Linked DNA regions of Homo sapiens: region 2 is linked to region 1. Evidence: promoter capture Hi-C in 16 types of primary human blood cells and fetal thymus (Javierre and others, 2016). All regions are on one chromosome and are shown on one strand. Each heading gives the region's core, a stretch centred on a gene start or on the middle of the fragment in contact. The rest is flanking DNA. Distances are from core to core; before and after follow the strand shown.

Region 1 (2,910 bases), core at 126-2,625:
AGACCATCCTGGCTAACACGGTGAAACCCTGTCTCTACTAAAAATACAAAAAAATTAGCCGGGCGTGGCGGCATGCGCCTGTAGTCCCAGCTGCTGGGGAGGCTGAAGCAGGAGAATGGCGTGAATCCGGGAGGCAGAGGTTGCAGTGAGCCGAGATCGCGCCACTGGACTCCAGCCTGGGTGACAGAGCAAGACTCCGTCTCAAAAAAAATAAAATAAAAATAAAAATAAAATAAAAACATAGTACACATTACGACTTAAGTAGTTGAAATTTGTGCCAAGTTTGAGCAACAAATGAGTTGCTCAAAAACATTTTAAGGTGATTACTTGGAAGAATAAACAAACACCTTCAAACTTTTCAGAATCGCTCATTGTAACTGGTATCCAAATTACAATTTTTTAAATCTATTCACTCCAATCATACAAAGCCCTACAAGCAGTTGTATATTTGAAGGCAATTTAAGCTTTCTTTCAATAATTATTCAGACTTTACACGAACTTAATCGACCTTCTCTGAATGTGTCTAAATTTGGTTAGGTATTTGCAGATTAGCCACATCTGTAAACATTTGTATAAGGAGGTGAAACAAATAGATTTTACCATGCTTTCTTATTCCATAAAGTCCATAAAGCATTCTAAATCAAATGTAGAGTATCACGTCACATCCAGAATAAAAGTAAAAATAATGGATCACAACTTAAAATTACAGTGCTGTCTTTAATTAAAAAACTTGTTCATTTCTCACTGTGCACAATGTAGCACTAACATGGTCTTCCGAACACTGCTGCTTGGTATAAAACCGAGAAATATTAAAGACCAGGAATAAGGTTATGTGTCCTATGGGTACATTTCGGAAAAGAAAATACATCCAACGAGTATGACTCTAGATAGGATTTTGTACACCCTCAACAAGTGACAAAATTCAAAACTAGGTAACCGCCCTCATAAGGTACTTGAAACTAAAATTTTTGCCACGAAAACATGGCATGTGCAAAAGTTCTCTCTCTGGCCATCACTCCTGCTAAGGACACTGGGAAGGACATGGTCAACGTAGCAGTCGATCAAAAAGATTCCAGGGAAACTGCGCAACAGCCTGGGGCCGAGAAGCGAAACTTGGGTCTTCTCCACCCTCGTCGCACTCCTTTTCCCCGAGACTTGGTACTGGGAGATAGGACGGGAGTCTCCTACACGCAGTCAACACTTGCCACGAGCGGCTAGACTTAGGACAGGCAAGTTGCCCTGCCATCCTTCTATCGCCCCCACCCCTCCTTTACTTAAGGGCGATGGCAGAGACGTCCTCCTCCCCCTTCTCCTCCTCTTTGGTGCCTCCAGCCAGGAGGCGGGAGCGATCCACAGCAGCTGACCCAGCTCAGGCACTGCCTCTCTCACAGCCCTCAAGACACACCATGGGCCCAGAGGCAGGTTTGCTACACAGCAGCGACGACGCAGGCGGCGGCCCCAGCGACTCGCAACTGCCTCCCTGACCACAGCGGCCACCGCCCAACACCCCCGAGAAGCCATCGCCACCACCGGCAGGAGAACCTAGGGTCCATAAAGCCATCTTCGCGATCGACTAAAGCTACGTCAACAACTATGGCGGGCGACGGGCGGCGGGCAGAGGCGGTGCGGGAAGGATGGGGTGTGTACGTCACCCCCAGGGCCCCCATCCGAGAGGGAAGGGGCCGGCTCGCCCCTCAAAATGGCGGCAGCAGCGATGCGCCTGCGTACAGAACTCCTCCGTCGCGCCAGGGCCGGCGGGAAGTGAGGTTCTCGGACGAGCCGCCAGAAGTGTACGGCGACTTCGAGCCCCTGGTGGCCAAAGAAAGGTCCCCGGTGGGAAAACGAACCCGGCTAGAAGAGTTCCGGTCCGATTCTGCGAAAGAGGAAGTGAGAGAAAGCGCGTACTACCTTCGGTCTAGGCAGCGGAGGCAGCCGCGACCCCAGGAAACCGAGGAAATGAAGACGCGAAGGACTACCCGCCTTCAGCAGCAGCACTCAGAGCAGCCTCCGCTACAGCCGTCTCCTGTTATGACCAGGAGAGGGCTGCGGGACTCTCATTCCTCTGAAGGTGAGGACCGCGGAGGTAACAGTCCCAGCCGCGAGCCAGGGAACGCGCGGGGGCGGGCGCGCGCCTCGGTGGAGCTCATGCCCGCCTGGGTACTAAGTACTGGGATTGGCTAAAGGGTATTCCTCAGCCCCCTCTGGACTTGTGCCGCCGTGCAAGGGCCACCCTGACCCGCAGCGGGGAAGGAAGCGCCGACCGGAGGAGTGGAAAGATGGTCGTGTGGAGCGACCCGGGCAGGGCTGGGGCGCTCTGCCCAACATCGGGCATCAATTTAGGGGAGTCAGAGCTGCCTTTTTCTGCAGGCCTTCACGAGGGGACAGCGAATTACTGCAGGGTCGGTTTCATTTCGGTTCCCTCTACCCTGCGGATGTTTCTACAGAAACCACTTCCATTTCCTTCTTTAACGCTCGCGGGCCAGAGTCCCCAGCTGAGGATCTAACCTTTCAGTCTTTTTCCCTCCTCACCCAGGTGGGCAGAGAGGAAGGAGAAATTTTGTGAGTGGGCATTTCGAGGGATTGCTGAGTTTAGTGAATTGATTTGAGACCTCACCCAATACTTTCACCGAAATGGGGTAACTCATTTTTCCTGAACTGATGTTCCCCAGTGTTTGATAACTTGAGCTGATTGCTGTTTCTCCAGTGTGGTGGTCCCTGCCAAAAATCTGCCACTTTGGTGGCCGTCACTGTAACCTCAAGTAGTCTGGCAAATCAGACTGACAAAGTAACCTGAAAAACAAGACTATTAATTAGAGTTTTCGTCTAAATGGACAAAAGGGATGCTGACAAAGTGAGTGTATAGTGTTAGGTAAGTCATAGGTGAATCAGTTTCCTTAATCTATCCTCTCC
Region 2 (3,034 bases), core at 28-2,527, 6.5 Mb after region 1:
GGGTGGTAGTGTGGGGTAAGGAGTCAAGCTTGTCTTATTATCATCCATTTCACTACCACAGCTTCTTTTCCTTTGGTTGTTAGTTTTTACTACTTTTTGCTCCTTGGGTGAGAAAGATATTCTGTAGCAGTTTAAATCACTTTATCCTAGAATGACTATCCACACGTATAATCCATAACTATAATAAATTAAGATAGCTGGAATTTATTAAGCACCCACTACATACCAGACATGCTTCTAAATGCTTCATGTGCACAAACTCAATTAAACCTCATTATTATCCAAATATTACAGATGAAGAAACTAAGAGCAGGGAAGTTAAACAATGTACCCAAGGCCACAGCTAATGGTATGAAGCTAGAATCTGAAACCAGGCAGTTTGGTTACAGAGCCTTTACTTTTAAGCACTATACTATATTAGTGTTTAACAAATGCTTAATGAATTTACAAGTTTAGAAGAATGCTTACTTCAAGTTAAATTTTACATTACGTTAAATGGTAGAGATATAAATGAGTGCTTCTCTTTTGATTTAACAAGTGCTTTCTTAAAGCTTAGTATACCTACCTGGACTTTCTCCCTTTCAGCATTTAGACTATCTTGCAGTTCCTGCAGCTCTCTTTCTAAAAGTTCAACCCTTTGTCGATAACGCAGACTCTCAACCTGAGCCACCTCAAACCTAGTTTCAGCAATTTCTTTTTCTCGTCGTATAAATCTACAAAAATACAGATATTAAAATTTTATGTGAATTTTAAAAAGCCAACATTACAAAACGTAGGTAATTTGGTAAGATGACAAAAATCATTGACTTTAATAACTATTACACGTTTTCATTAATAATAAATAATAATGGGAGATGTATTTCTATTTTCTTTTATAGACACTGGCTTTAGAATGTTTATCTCTAAAATGATCTGAAAGGCATTTAGTTTTTCAAGAGAAAACTGCTCTAGTTCTTACTATCAGATTCAACTTTAAAGTCACTTGTTTAATATGTGTAAATGTTAAAAGTTATGAGTTCTTTGACAAATAAAAGAATGAACTTTATATCAAAATCGTGTATAATCTCCTTCTCTAATTTATATATTTGTAGTTTCATTTCATAGTTGTTATACCACAGAAATGAAGCAGTAAGAACATGATTTACCTGAGAATTTCCAAAATTTGTTCTTGAGATTTTCCTTCTTCACTGAGAGATACATTCAGTGGACCTTGTACACCTTCCTTCACAGAGGCAACGACCTTGTCACTTAATTTTTCGATCTGATCATGAAGTAATCTGTTTTGTTTCTCCAGATCTTCACAGCGACATACACATTTGGAAACTTCATCCTGCAAGCCAAGAGTCTATCAGAATAACAGATTTTCCAATGCATATTTAAAAAAAACAACTTGGCCAGGCGCGGTGGCTAACGCCTGTAATCCCGACTACTTGGGAGGCTGAGGCAGGAGAATTGCTTGAACCCAGCAGGTGGAGATTGCAGTGACCCCAATATCACGCCATTGCACTCCAGCATGGGTGACAGAGCGAGGCTCCATCTCAAAACATTATAAAATAAAGAAAAAAACAACTCTTTCAATTCAACAGAACATTCTATTCAGATTTACAATAATACCTTTAACATTCTCTCTCTTTCCTCCCAAGATGCTTTACACTCCAACAACTGTGATTCTGCTTTCTGTGTTGTTTCTTCCAAATGCTGACGGACTGATGCCATTTTTGAAACCTGCTCCTTCGCAGCTTGTAGAGCTTCAACATCAGCAGCATGCAGCATCAATTCTCTCTCATACTTATTCTGAGCTTCCACAGCTATTTTAGCCTATAAGAAATTATTACCCAATTGATACCAAAGATTAAAAATCCATAAAACTAGTTAGCACTTGTCCAAAGATACACATTGGACTTTTTAAATAATAAAAGTAAAGACAATCTAAATGTAGCAAAATAAGAAAATAATTAAAAGTTAATGCTTTAGTTACTTAATATTATAAAACTGTCAGAAATGAAGCTTAGAAGACCAGCAATTTGGACAAACTTTTTGATATAAGAAGCTAAACATAACTCAGCTATATTAAGTACTAAATTATAGATCCATTGATTTTAATGAAATTTACTTTGAAGCATTTCTTCCCTGTATTACATTTTAAAATAGCAATATACACGTCACATATATATAGGCAATAAAGAATAGTAAGCAAATGAATAGCTATTAACATGACACCCAACTTAAAATAAGAACATTACCAATATGCTCAAATGTACTGCTATCCCATCCTACCATTTTAGTAACTCTGAATCCTGAATTGTTTTATCATTTCCTGTTCATAAAAAAATTATAAAAAGCTTCAATACTGTGTGCACATACATACATACACTCAAAATAATGATACTTTTTTAACATTTTATAAATAGTATATAGATATCTGCGCAAACTTGGTAATGCATTAACAATGTTATCAAGAGGTTCTTGTTTTGTTAGCAAAGGTTGCCTCTAATCAACTGTATCTGTAATTTTATAATCAGATCTAGTGAAGGACAATAGTAAAATAATTTTTGCAAATGAGAGCCAAGTACAAATTTTAGTCTCCTAGTCCTGTTTTTATTTTCCCATTGTCAAGATTGCTTTGTTAATGAATATTGCCCTATGTATTTATTTTTAGCCTTCCATCTATACTTTTCAATTTGTCTTGTCTAAGTTCCACAAAAGTGGAAATTATCTTGAATTTTTGTAAGGTCCACCAGTTCTTATAATGCATAAATATACTTCAAGAATCATTCTCTAGGATCGAAGCTCATTTCTCAATAATTGGCTATACTTACTTGTTCCTGACAGTCACGTCTGGCTTGCTGCTCATTACTTAAAGCTGTGCTTGCTCTCTGAAGAGCTTCTTGTACTTCATTCTGAACACTAGAAAGTGTTTTCTTCAATTCAGATAACTAAGCAGAAAGAACAAGATTAAAACCAAAATTAATTGCAAACTTACTTGGAAAATACTGTATTGTAGTGTTACTAAATTGAAGTCTCATTTTTTAAG

What was found. The method cuts DNA at HindIII sites, captures the fragments that hold promoters and counts their contacts. A CHiCAGO score of 5 or more calls a contact.
Region 2: a contact is called between a fragment that was not itself captured here and the fragment with the promoter of TOR1AIP1 in region 1, in 1 of 17 cell types (naive CD8 T cells). The highest score is 6.0, in naive CD8 T cells.

Annotation. Positions count from the first base shown.
Region 1 is chr1:179,880,910-179,883,819 of GRCh38, forward strand. It overlaps TOR1AIP1 (torsin 1A interacting protein 1), which reads left to right and starts at 1,376. Exons shown (of 10, transcript NM_015602.4): 1 at 1,376-2,068. The coding sequence starts at 1,594. LOC139427322 reads left to right here and starts at 1,407. Exons shown (of 1, transcript NM_001436163.1): 1 at 1,407-1,484. The coding sequence starts at 1,407. The coding sequence ends at 1,484. RefSeq lists enhancers at 742-1,280, 1,193-1,302, 1,281-1,818, 1,323-2,082, 1,645-1,939 and 1 more. The HindIII fragment of the contact is 5,266 bases long and covers 463-2,910 here.
Region 2 is chr1:186,342,761-186,345,794 of GRCh38, forward strand. TPR (translocated promoter region, nuclear basket protein) reads right to left here. Exons shown (of 51, transcript NM_003292.3): 24 at 2,820-2,936; 25 at 1,615-1,818; 26 at 1,146-1,330; 27 at 566-713. Among named protein-coding and RNA genes, the nearest start is that of TPR, 31 kb to the right of the region's middle. RefSeq lists an enhancer at 756-1,955. The HindIII fragment of the contact is 1,456 bases long and covers 550-2,005 here.